2 separate regions of the Homo sapiens genome follow, and region 1 is linked to region 2. Evidence: promoter capture Hi-C in 16 types of primary human blood cells and fetal thymus (Javierre and others, 2016). All regions are on one chromosome and are shown on one strand. Each heading gives the region's core, a stretch centred on a gene start or on the middle of the fragment in contact. The rest is flanking DNA. Distances are from core to core; before and after follow the strand shown.

Evidence for each region. Contacts are between HindIII fragments. The CHiCAGO score rates a contact against its expected background, and 5 or more counts as called.
Region 1: a contact is called between a fragment that was not itself captured here and the fragment with the promoter of MTX2 in region 2, in 1 of 17 cell types (activated CD4 T cells). The highest score is 5.2, in activated CD4 T cells.

What each region holds. Positions count from the first base shown.
Region 1 is chr2:177,135,392-177,142,196 of GRCh38, forward strand. The region is part of intron 1 of LOC105373760 (a long non-coding RNA gene); the gene reads right to left. It also overlaps the pseudogene RNA5SP112. Among named protein-coding and RNA genes, the nearest start is that of MIR4444-1, 74 kb to the right of the region's middle. The HindIII fragment of the contact is 1,768 bases long and covers 3,438-5,205 here.
Region 2 is chr2:176,264,205-176,270,858 of GRCh38, forward strand. MTX2 (metaxin 2) reads left to right here and starts at 5,238. Exons shown (of 10, transcript NM_006554.5): 1 at 5,238-5,465. The coding sequence starts at 5,426. RefSeq lists enhancers at 4,879-5,506, 5,507-6,132 and a silencer at 5,085-5,174. The HindIII fragment of the contact is 3,129 bases long and covers 3,440-6,568 here.

The DNA.
Region 1 (6,805 bases), core at 3,072-5,571, 870 kb after region 2:
TCTACACACAAGAACAGAACATAGAGGACCATGCATGGGAGGTTTTTATAGGCCAGACCTGGAAGCAACAACACATCACTTCTGCCCACATGCCAGTGGCTAGAACTTGGTCAGATGAGTCCAGGCACAGTGGCTCAAGCCTGTAATCCTAGCCCTTTGGGAGGAGTTTGAGACCAGCCTGGCCAACATAGTGAAACCCTGTCTCTACTAAAAATACAAAAATTAGCCAGGCATGGTGGCACATGCTACTCAGGAGGCTAAGGCAGGAAAATCACTTGAACCCAGGAGGCAGAGGTTGTGGTGAGCCGAGATCGCACCACTGCACTCCAGCCTGGGCAACAGAGCAAGACTCTGTCTCAAAAGAAAAAAAGAACTTGGTCAAATGGCCAGTCCTAACTATGAGGGAGACTGGTGGTATAATCTAAAGGTATGTACCCAGGAAAAGGGGAAAACAGGTGAACATTTAATACCCAACCACAAATTATCAGTTGTGTCTTTCAAACATTTCTTTATAATTTCAATTTTCTAAACAAGGATCTAGCAAACTACGGCCTGCAGGCCAGATTTACCTTACCACCTGTTTTCATACTGCCCACAAAATAAGAAATGTTTTGGTATTTTTTAATAGTTAAAAAAATCAAAAGAAGAATAATGATTTGTGACACATATGAAATTCAAATTTCAGTCTCCATAAATAAAATGTTCTTGAAACACAGCCACGTTCATTCATTTACATATTGTCTATGGCTGCTTTTGTACTAAACAACAACAGAGTCAAATAGTTGCAACAGAGGACATATGAATGGGAAAGCCAAAAGTATTTACTACCTGGCCCTTTGCAGAAAAGGTTTGCTCACCTCTGTTTCAAACTGATAAGAGTTTTTAAGAATCGAGCAACAGGTACTTCTAGGCAGTGACCTGAAACACAAATATGCCTGATTGGTAGTTAAAGTATATTCATAGGCATCAGTGATTAAATGAGCTGATACAAAATTGATATCTTTTGGGAACACTGAGGGGTCTGAACAAGCTTCTGGCCATTCCTCTATATGTAGAGTTAGATCAAGAAGAACTTGCAGGCAAAGCTAGAATTTTTCATAAGAAACATTTCTGGATCTATACCAGTTTAAAAACCCATGATTAATCAGTTAGTCATTTTTACATAAGCAAGTAAAGACACACTGTTTTCCAAATTTCTCAAATAAATAAGCATCTCTTCAATAGAACTGTTAGATACTATACTAGCATGGCTTGTTTTTAATAAATAATGTATCACGCTGTTATAGAAAGAATATGATTTTCTGGGGATTGTAAATACTTTAATTCCAATGGTGAAAAGGTAAAGGATAAAGTTGCCTAACAATCATACTTCATGAAATCAAATTTCAAAGTTTATTTATAGATAGTTTCCTGATGATTATGTTAGCATAACTTTATTGTTTCTTGATTACTTAAAAATCAGATCAAGAACAAAAGTAACTCCTTTTTATCAGAATGCCTATCAACCTCAAATACTGACTGATAGCATTCCTTTCTATTAAAGTTTCAAAAGATAAGTAGGTTCACAGGGAATATGTGCTGCTAGTACACACAGATGAACAGTTTTAGAATTTAAGAAGGAATAAAATGTACCAACATATCAAAATAAGCTTTAAAAAAAAATCTTGGCATTAATGTCAATAGGCACTCCCTGGGGAACTCCAGGGACATAAAGCATAAGCTTCAGGACAAAATTTTGCTTGTAGCCACTGTACCTGCAGTCATCCAGAACAAACAAAACCTTCAGCCCTGCAGAGCCAGGCTACCCGAGACCAGAATGCCCCAAATTTGGGAATGACCTCAAAATCACTGTTTCAGAGTTCAATATCAAGCTCCTTGTTTTATATAACATGCAAGTGAGCACAGATTGAGTAAGGAACTTGCCCAGGCCACACAGCCAGCAGTCAGCAGCACTGGCATTAGGACTCCAGCCAGCCCCTTTCCCCATCTTCTGGGTTCTTCCTCTAGGGGTGTCCAATCTTTTGGCTTCCCTGGGCCACATTAGAAGAAGAAGAATTGTCTTGGGCCACACATAAAATACCCTAATACTAACTATAGCTGATGAGCTAATATATATAATATAACATATATATATAACATATAACATAATGTTATATATAACATATATATAACATATAACATATAATATATATATAATATATATAATATATAATATAACATATATATTTGCTCATCAGCTAATATATATGGCCTAGTCCCATAATGAAATACTATATAATATATATATATTATATATATCATAATGTTTACACACCTGTGTTGGGTCACATTCAAAGCCATCCTGGCCGCATGCAGCCCACGGGCCGTGGGTCGGATAACTTTTCAAGTCTACACCATAATTCATCCTCCCGCAGCTGGCTCTCTGGAGCCATCAGTTCATTGACTCAAGCAAGGTTAATGTATCCTCCTTCTAAGACAGATTAAATTCAAGTCCAAAACCACTTAATGCATGAACGTCATCCCAATGAGACCTATAAAGCAGAGGCCCTGTCAGCTTTGTAGGGCCCCAAACATCCCACAATGCCTTTTTGCCAGACCTGAATTGGCAAAACTCTTTGGCCAAAGGCTCAGATGTCTTTCACCCTTCTCTTCAGACTGCATTGGTAAACCACGCTTCTTTTCTTTCCTCCTTGCCTCCTACCTATTTCCTCTGTAGCATCTGCTTTGTAGATCATTCTTCTGTGGTGTGTGAGGACAAACGACACCAACAATCACACCACCACTCAATTGCTGAAGAGTGTAATTCCTGAACAACCAGATGCACCACTTTTACTTTAATACTTCGAATTACTATGTGGAAATCCAGGATGCGTTTGTAGATTTATTTCTACTAACACAACAATTTTTACAAGTAACTAAAACTATGATAAAATTTTATCAGTTTCTGGATTTCATTCCAAGATGTCAAGACATGGGCCACATCCTCTTTAGCAGATTGTCTGGAGGAAAACCCTCCCATCAACCAAACTTAATTAATATTATTTCATGTTACTTGATAGAAATAAATAGTAATCTCCAATTTTTCTTAGCTTTTGAATAGGATATCTGAATTAACAGCATTGATTTATTTAAAATAAAAATAATGATCTCTCTTTACTCTCTAGCTCCCAATCGCAAAATCCCACAATCTCCAATTAACAGTGATTTATTTTATACAAAAATAGTGGCAAAGTTTTCTTTTCTCATCAATCCCCAAAATGTACAATGGTACTTTAGTGCTTCCTCTATGCCAAATCATAGATATCCAATATATGGCCATACTGCCTGATCTCATCTAACCTCAGAAGCTAAGCAGGAATGGTCCAGTTAATATTGGATGGGAGACCACCTGAAAATGCCATGTATAGGCTTTTAAAAAACAAAGCCGAGATACTCAAAGCTTCATCAAAATGGGTAAACACTGTGATAGTGGTTTTCAAAGTGCTTACTAACTAGCTCCAAAACACAGAATTGCTGCAGTACAACCACAAAAGCAGGGGGAACAGAATGTAAAGCATTTGGATTTTAAAGTTTTAAAAGATTTCTAGATGTTTAGAGTGATTAGTTCTGTCCCACTTACAAAATGGAAACTGAGAAACAGAGTTAATCACAGAAACCAGTCTCCTTCCCAACCTATAGTTTTATGAAACTATACAAAGACACAGCTAGGTAGCAACTTCTTCCAGGAAACATGAACATTTAGAATCTCATTTCTTCCATTATATGACTGAATCTAATAAAGAAGTACATTTTTCATGCCACAAAAGACCAAATGAGGCCAAACAAGTATTCTAGAATCAACTTGAGACAGAAAGTAATTCCATTATCATCAATCAGGGTAGCATGCCCTTATTTTATAATAATTTTAAAAATCTTAGTCCATCTCATACACTAAAGAAATTTATTCAGATAAGCTATATTTATTGTTTAATCTTGTGATGGAAGAAAAAGGGACTTTCACTTGCCTAAACTTGATTGTTTAAAAGAGGATATTTAAAACTTTTCCTTGCCAAATGTCCAAAGACTTGTAAACCAGGATATTCATTACAATGCTTTTTATAATTTATAATATATAAAGTAGATAATAACTTAAATACTCAATAAGGGGAGGAGCGATTAAGTAAATTATGGCATACTCCCATAATGAAATACTATATAATCATCAACATTGATTATTAGGGATAATTTATTGTCATGTAAAGATGTTTATATTAATGAGAAAAAGTAATGATAGTATTTAGGATCACAATTTGATAAAAATCTATAGTGAAAATTATATTTCACATACATGGGTATACATAGAAAAGAAAGGTTGGAAGTACAGACATCAAAATAATAATGTTCATTTCTAGGTAGTAGAATTACTAGTAGAATTTTTTTGTTTGTATTTTCCAATTGTTTTACATTAATATCTTTCATTTGCTAAAAAATAGTAATAAAGTATGTAGTGCATCTGAAAAATTTCATTCAAAATGATTAATATTAAAGAACTATTTCCAGCTGTGTGGCACATTAGCTTCGTGGTATATTTCATAGCTTGGTGATTTCAGGTAAGTGACAAATTGCTTTATATCCTTTCTGTACCTGGGTAAACTGAGGTACAAAGTGAAATCAGAGACAGAACTAAAAGCAAAACATGAAGTTCCAAGATTTCAGTTCCCGTTACTAAAATTCATGTATTCATTTATTCAATAAATATTTATTATGCAGCTAAAATGTAAGAAACATAAGGATAAATCATGTATAGATCCTACTCTCAGAGACTGCAATTACTAAGATAATAAGGAATCTACCTAAATTTAAAAAGAGATAATGCTATAAGAGAGGTATGAGTGAAGGAGAGGTTTCTTTTTACTCATGGAGTTAGAGAAGTATTATTGAACAACAAAAAGAACACAGTTGTGATTCAATACTGAAAAGTTGAATTTCTATGGTTATATGATGTGCATTATCTTAGAAAAATGAACTCTATGTAGTACTGAGTGAAAAAGGTGGGTTGATGCAAAACAGTATGTATGTTTATTATACACATTTTACACACACACATCCACATACACCAACGTGCATGTGTAAACCAAACTGCTAACAATGCTAGTCTCTAGTTAGGGGAATTACAGGTGGTTTTTATCATTTTGCTATCTATCATGTCCAATTTTATTACAATGAAGCTTAATGGTGTATTACAAATCAATAAAAGGGGAATACTTGTCCATGGTGACCAAATAAAGCTTGCATCATGCCATGATCAGTGCTGCACTATGCAGAAGCTAATGCTGACATGTGATAGACGATGACCAGGATGCATGACTTGCCCACTTCTTTTCTGATAGCCCCAGCTCTGATTTGTTTCCATTTGACAACACTGAATGAGTGGTACAAAATTATTGTCCCTACCTTTGTGTAATATTCAGAGAACTGAGTAGATGCCTAGAGATTCAAAAAAGGACCAAAATAACCAGAACTCTTGAGAGCGTACCTAATTACACAATCATTAATAATCAATATAGCTTCACAAAGAACTTGTCCTATGTAGATAATAGACAGTCATCCTATTACATAGCAGAGTGGAAGGCCTGATGGATCACAGAAAATTAACTGATGAACCCTAAGCTGGACTTTAGGAAGGCTTTTGATTCTCTCCTACAAGGCATGCTAGGAAAATAGACCAGGAACAGACAACTGTTGATTCATTAACTATAGATTGGCTGGGGAGTTCTAACTAAAGCATTCAAATTGAGGAGACGACAAATGGTGTTTTTGATATCAACCCGAATAACAGACAGAAGAGGCCAAAAAATGAAATTTAGAAGGTAAAATAACAATTTAAGATAAAATTGTACAAATAAGAAACAAAATGTAGATTAAACGTAGTATGGAAAAATGTGTTCAAAGTACACACCTGAATTACAGGAGCTAATTAGAAATTGTTTGCATAGAAATATGACTGTCAGTAGGCATTGCTGTAGCAGTTTAAAATACTGTTTTGACAATGAATACCGAATTAGGACTGACAGACAAATGCATGTTGTCTACACCCATGTTAGCACTTAACATGTTGTATTGCCATTACTTGTTGGCAAATCTTTCTCTCCCTCAAGGTTTTTGTTAAATCTTACTGTATTCCCAGCACCTAGCAGAGTCTGGCAGAGAGAGGATTTTTCAATACATCCTCAGGAATAAATGAGATCATCTCCCATCTTCCTCAGATACCTTAATAAAGCACTAAACTCCCCTCAGAGTGCTATATTTAAAGATGGATATGAATAATTTGCTGAGCATTCAGAGGAGAACTTAAAAAGGTGGGGAGTTGATAAATGAGAATTGGATTTTTCCGTTTATAGAAGAGAAAGCTGGGGGGTAAATTAGTTACAATTTTCTTTTTGAAGAAATCTTACGCAAAAGACATCTTTTTCTATTAAAAATGTCCAAAAGTGTCTGGGTTAGAAGCCCAGATTAGGGAAATGGACCATTAAATATTGGAATGGATAACAACAGAAAAAAAAAAAAAACCTCAACTAAAATATATTTTACTAAATGCTTTCACAAAAGAGCTAGCTCCTGAGCTCCAATGAAGACTCACGTATAAGCCGCTGTGAATTAAGAAGCTGGCCTTTCAACCAAGCCCCTTACGTAAGAGCCAAGACTCCACAATTTCATGATAAATGAGTAACCAGCCATCATCAGAGAGTTTGCACAATTAAACTGACAATTCAAAACTCAATTTTATTTTCATGATATTTATGTTCAAGTTATCATAGAAGTCTGT
Region 2 (6,654 bases), core at 3,988-6,487:
AACCTCCCAAAGTGCAGGGATTACAGGCGTGAGCCACTTCGCCTGACCTCAAGCATATTTTCTCCCATTTTCCTTCTTGTCACAGGCCACATTTCCCCCTGGCCTGGTAAATCATTCAGCCCATTCACTTGGACAAAGTACTTAATCCAGAGTGAGACCATGCAAGCAAGGACAATTATAATTCTTCCCTGAAATGAATACAGCATAAGGAAGTTGGAAGAGAGTAACTCTCTTTACTGTTGGGTTGCCAAGCCTGGAAGATGTCAAGTTGGTGCTGCTGGCTGCTATTTTTCCTGCCATCTGAGAGAAGGCATGTCTTCAGTTAAAAAGAATAAAGCTGAACAGAGATGAGAGATAGAGAGCTGAAGGACTAAGGTATTGGTTCCTAGAACCCTCCATTCTGTTCTGTGAATTATTTCTGTATCTTTTCTTCCACTATGGAGCAATAAAATTAAACTTTCTTAAGCTGAGTTCTATTGTGTATTTTTTTTTATAACTTGCAACCAGAAAAGTCCTAATACAGTTCCTGTAACTGTAGATAAGACATTACCACCAGCAGCAAAGAGCAGGCAATAGATAGAGTAAAAAGATTCAGCTCCCTACAATATGGTAAAGCTATGAAAATGAGGCAACATATAGGCTCAAGGTGGAAGAATATTTTGGAAATTTAGCATCCTAATATCTTTTGAAAAGCAGTTAATATTTGAATAATCTAGGTCCACTACAATCAATATTGCAGGTATTTCCCAAAGCATGGTCAAATATGCCATAGTTTATGTGACAGTGTGCTAGCCTAAAATAGGGGGTAAGAACAGAAAGCAAGAAAAAGGTAAGAATGTAACAGTCCTGAGTTGGTTATAATTTCTTAGGAATTATAAGGGGAGGAAAGGAGTTGAGGGATATAAGGATGAATGACTGTCACATTTATCTACCCTTTTAAAAATATCTTTGTAAACCTTATATATTAGATTGCTTATAGTTGTCTACAGTTTGTTTCTAAAGCAGTAAAGACTATTAACAGAGGAACTTAAGGCACTGAAGCATAACATTGTTACAGATATGGTTTGGATTCGTATCCCTGCTCAAATCTCATGTACAATTGGAGAAGAGGCCTGGTGGGAGGTGATGGGATCATGGGGGCAGATTTCCCCCTTGCTGTTCTCGTGATAGTGAGTTTTCACGAGATCTGATCCTTTAAAGGTGTGTGGCACTTCTCCCTTCTCTTTCTCTTCCTCCTGCTCCACCATGGCAAGACATGCTTGCTTCCCCTTTGCCTTCCACCATGATTGTAAGTTTCCTGAGGCCTCCCAGCCACGCTTCCTGTTCAGCCTGCAGACTGTGAATCAATTAAACCTCTTTTCTTTATAGATTACCCAGTCTCAGGTAGTTCTTTATAGCAGTGTGAGAATGAACTAATACAGTTATTTTAGTGTTTTTAACTGTATTAACACTCTATTTGGGTTGATTGATTTAACTATAGTTAATTCTGTTGATGAGGTATGAGGGAGTAATTTGATAAAAAGGTCTGAATTTATATATTGTTCTTAAGTAAATAGTAATTTTAAAGGAATCATAGACAAAAATGTTTCCTTGCTGACACCTTTTTAAAAATAAAACGTTTACCTTAAAAATATTAACATTCTGTCAGAGAAAATTAAAAGGTAGATAAAATATCTTAGTATTTTAATCTTAATAAAGTATATATTCATCATAATAACTGCTTATTTTCTTACATTTAATACAGTAACATAAAAGTCTAGATTAGGGACATGAAAATATTCTATAATAGTTTTGCAAGAAAGTGATTTTATTAGGGCAAACAATAAGACTGTTAATGTCATGCATTGATATTTTATTTAAAAAATTGTGTAATTATTTTTTTAGTAACATATGGATTCCCCAGCACTTTTGTTTTATAACCTCATTCTTAAAAATTCTGGTGGCTTGTTTTCTTGTATTTCCCTCAATTGTGGTGATCTTAAACAGATCTTCAGTTTTAAATCTGCCGTTCGTTCTAATACAGATGCGTAAATATATTTTCTCCAGTTGGCTATTTATTACAAAGACAGTTTATTTGTGGGCACCATAAAGACATCTGCATTTTACTGAACTTAATTTTTAGTAATAAAGACCTCCCACATTACAGATTCTTTCCAGCCTAAATGTGCCTGTGTGGGAAGCAAAAGAACCATCAGTCAGGGGGAAAAAGTGAATCCATATGGTGCTGATGATTCTGCTTCCCTGGCTAAAATGAAGAAAGAGTTGAGTATCGACAATGCCCCCGGCACATCTCTGTTTTTTTCTAAAAAGCATGCTGCTATGGCTTGAATATTTGTGTCCCTCAACAACTCATATGTTGAAACTCAATTGCCACTATGGTAGTATTAAGAAGAGGTGGGGAATTTAGGAGGTAATTAGGTCAAGAGGGCTCTGCCCTTATGTATGGGATTAGTGTCCTTATAAAAGAGGCCCAAGGGAGTTTATTTGCCCCTTTTGCCCTTCTGCCATGTGAGGACATGTACAAGGTGCTATCTGTGAGAACTGGGACCCCCAAGACACTGAATCTGCTGGTGCCTTGATCATGGACTTTCCAACCTCCGAAAGTCAGGGCAGTATATTTCTGTTTATAAATTATCCAGACTAAGATATTTTGTTATAGCAGCCCTAATGGACTAAGGCACTTGCCATAATAAAGATGATTGGTGTCAGTCCCAAACCAGTACCTTCCAGCCAGCTCAGTTCATGCATGTATCATGCATCAAGCCATGGGTACTTAACTTAAATTTTAAGGGCACATTCTACTTTGCCTCTAATCTTGCTCTGTTTCTCTTGCATCTGTGTCCAGTCTCTGGCTCTTTCCAGTCTCTTCCACTTTGGGGCTCACTTCTACCCTTTGGATATGTTTGATTTTGGTTTCCCCAGTTGAATCTTCATTACTCTCTAGGGACTTTGGCTCAAGTTCTCACACAGGCCCTATGATATGGAGAAATCTTAAACTTCAAATCTGTCAAAAAGTAGTCAAAATATTGTGTCTTCAGCTTTATAAAAATGACAAACCAAAATTAATAATAGAACTTAAAGTGATGATATGTCTTCTTCATTATTACAGTTATACATAATTCTCCACTGTGAGGAGAACAGACAGGGCCTGAAAGCTTTTCTTTTGATTGATAACAAAGTATCTGGAACAGCTCATTTCTCTTGGTCAATAATACCTATGGGATGAGGAGGAAATTGGATCTCATGTATTCTTTACTATCAGTGTTACCTCTCTCTGCACAAACAAGAAAAACCTATTAATATTATCTTCCCTGTATTTCTACTATTCACAGCTGCTTGTCAACTCTGAATTTCAGCTATAGAGAAGACACTACTTCCTAAGACGCTGCTGTGTTTATGTCAATGTAAATTATTGGGTAAATTTAAATGCTGTTTAAGAAGCTTCCTTTTGCTGAGGGAGATGAAAATATGACTTAACCTTAAAAAAATTATGGGGCTGGGCACAGTGGCTCACGCCTGTAATTCCAGCACTTTGTGAAGCCAAGGCGGGCGGATCATGAGGTCAGGAGTTCGAGACCAGCCTGGCCAACATGGTGAAACCCGGTCTCTACTAAAAATACAAAAATTAGCCGGGCATGGTGGCACGCACCTGTAATCTCAGCTATTTGGGAGGCCAAGGCAGGAGAATCGCTTGAACCTGGAAGGTGGAGGTTGCAGTGGGCCGAGATCACGCCACTGCACTCCAGCCTAGGTGACAGAGCAAGACTCCATCTCAAAAAAAAAAAAAAAAAAAAAGAAAAGAAAAGAAAAGAAATCATGTTAAGATGAGGTCCTGCTGGATTAGGGTGGGGGTCCCTAACACAATGACTGGTGTTATTTCTCAAGAAGAGAGAAATTTGAACACATTGACACACAGGGGGAATGCCGTGTGATGTGGTGGCAGAGATTGGAGTGATGTATCTACAAGCCAAAGTACATGGAAGATTGCCGGCAACCCCCTTCTCTGGAGCCTTGCAAGACAGCATGGCCCTGCTGACACCTTGATTTCAGACTTCTAGCCTCCAGAATTGTGAGAATGAATTTCTGTTGTTTAGCCAACCAGTTTGTGGTAATCTGGCAGCTCTAGGAAACCAACCACGCTAGTTAAGGAGGCAGAATGAACAGTAATAGAGATCTACGGATATAAAGAATGGAAATATAGCTTTCTAAATGTCATGGACAGTAATTCTTAGAATACAGGTTTCCTCTGCAAAAACCTAGTAAGCTGTCTGACTTTTTGATTTACTGTGTGATTTAAAATGAGTTACCTCACCTCTCTGAACTTGTTTCTCATCAGTGAAGGGGGCTTTGGGTTACCAGCTCTGAAGCCTGTCCCACTTGTAATACCACCAATCTGTAATGCATATGATTTTTCTTTAATTGTGTAATTTAAGAAGCTATTAGGTTAAGACAAAGTTACTCAGGGAATTTAGTTTCTCCTCTTCCTGCCCCGTTCACCCCCGAAAGGTGAGAAGTGTGTGAAACTAAAGTATCTTATTCTCCAAGCTGAGCATCATTTCGGGTGTATGGAGTTGAAGGACAAATTACCTTCTGGCTTAGGCGCTGCTCAAGCCTCCTTTCTGCCAAGCATGTTTGAATAAACAACAACAACAAAAAACACTAATGTCTATCCACGGACTAATCAACCCAGCAATATAATGGAATAGAGGGAATTCATGCAGCCTTGAATCTGGTCCTTGGAGGACTGCCTGGGCAGGCAGTTTAAACTCCTTAAGCCTATATTCTTATCCGTAAAATGGCGATAATATTATTACTTTAATGGGTTGTTGAGAAGACGAAGTCAAATAGAATATATGTGTATATATATGTATATATGTGTATATATGTACATGTGTACATATATACGTGTATATATTATATATGTGTGTATGTGTGTGTGTATATATGTATATATGTGTGTGTAGATATAGGTATATAAGTGCCTGGTATCCAGTGGGCGTTTACAAATGTTACTCGGTTACAAAATTCTGGCTTACAGAAAGGACGCTAAAAATCTCCCAGATTCCCCTGCCAGTCCCCTGGGTGGGAGACGAGTCGGGTACTTCGCTTCCACCTGCGGGCCCCCAGCGCAGAGCCTGGAATTGGCTGGACGGAGCTAGCCGCGCCGGCGCCCCGTAGGACGGCGCGGGGGCGGGGCCGGCGGAAGCGCTCGAGTGCCGTTGTCGGCTGCGCCGGAAGTCCCTAGCCAGGCCTGGCGGTAACCTTGGGGGCCTCACTGCAGCCGCCGCTGCTGTTGGAGTGGGCTTTGCGAGTCTGAACGTTGGCGGGGCTAGGCTCGTTAACTGCCGAGAGCCTCCGGGTTTGCGGTGGAGGACGCTGAGGCCCGTGGGGGGCAGGCACCCGGGCGCCGGGCCTCCCAGCCGACATGTCTCTAGTGGCGGAAGCCTTCGTCTCCCAGATTGCAGGTAGCGCGGCTGGCCGCAGACCCAGAAGGTGGCGGCGCGGTCTCGGGGAGCCGCGTGGGGTACAGGGCTGGAGCTTTCCTCCAGCCTTGCGGCATTATACGCTGAACCCGGCCCGGATGGTGGAGGCGGGCACGGACTACCAACCTTATCTCACATATGGGAAAACTGAGAAGGAGACACTTGGCCAAGGTCACCCCGCAGGAGCAGGAGTCCCGTCTCCTTCCCTTGGGCGGTACTTTGTCCCACCTCCCCATTCAGTTGGGAGGTGCTGGAGTATGAGGGGGAGGCCTTGGATTGGGATTGAGGTGGGGGGCGTTACCACAGGGGCAAGCATCTGAACGCTTCAGTCTAAGAGTGGTGGCAGTTTCTGGGTCTTGGTACTCAAAAAGTTTAAGGTGACTGTCACTAATCAGTTGTTACCTATTGTTGAGGGAACACCAGACTTCTTGCTTCGTCTCCCAGCGACACAGTAGTGCCATTTGCTAAGACTCTAGGAGTTATTTATTTATTTATTTGTTGAGACGGAGTTTCTCTTTTGTCACCGAGGCTGGAGTGCAGTGGCACAACCTGGGCTCACTGCAACCTCCGCTTCCCGGGTTCAAGCGATTCTCCTGCCTTAGCCTCCCGAGTAGTTGGGATTACAGGCGCCCGCCACCACGCCCGCGCGGATTCATGGAAAATTTTTAAATCTGCATGTACTTTAAAGAAATACTTTTGAGTCGGTGGACTGAACATGACTGATGTATATAGGTTTGTAATTTCTCTTATTGAGGTTTTTATTTATTGTAATGAAAGAAATTAAATATTGTTGAGAAAGTGAGGAGACTAAACATAGGTACTTTGAGATAGAGGCTAATGGAATTAGTCATAACTCCCTAGCAGTGTTTTCAACATGAGTACAGTAATGAAGACAGTCACCACAATAAATAGGTACATTTGAAGTAATAAGATAGTATTTTGGAAATGGGAAGTACAGAATGTGTCATAAAATTTGCCGGAATGTTTTTCACTGCTTTGCGTTTGTGTGAACGTACATTTCTTTTTTTTCCTTCTTCACTTAAAAACATTATTTTTTAGAGGAGAGAAGCTCCTACTAGATTGCAAGCTTCCTGAAAGTAGGGATCAAACTTGTTTTGTTCCCCATTGTATCCATAGTCAGTTGGTGCTCAATAAATATTTGCGACCCAAA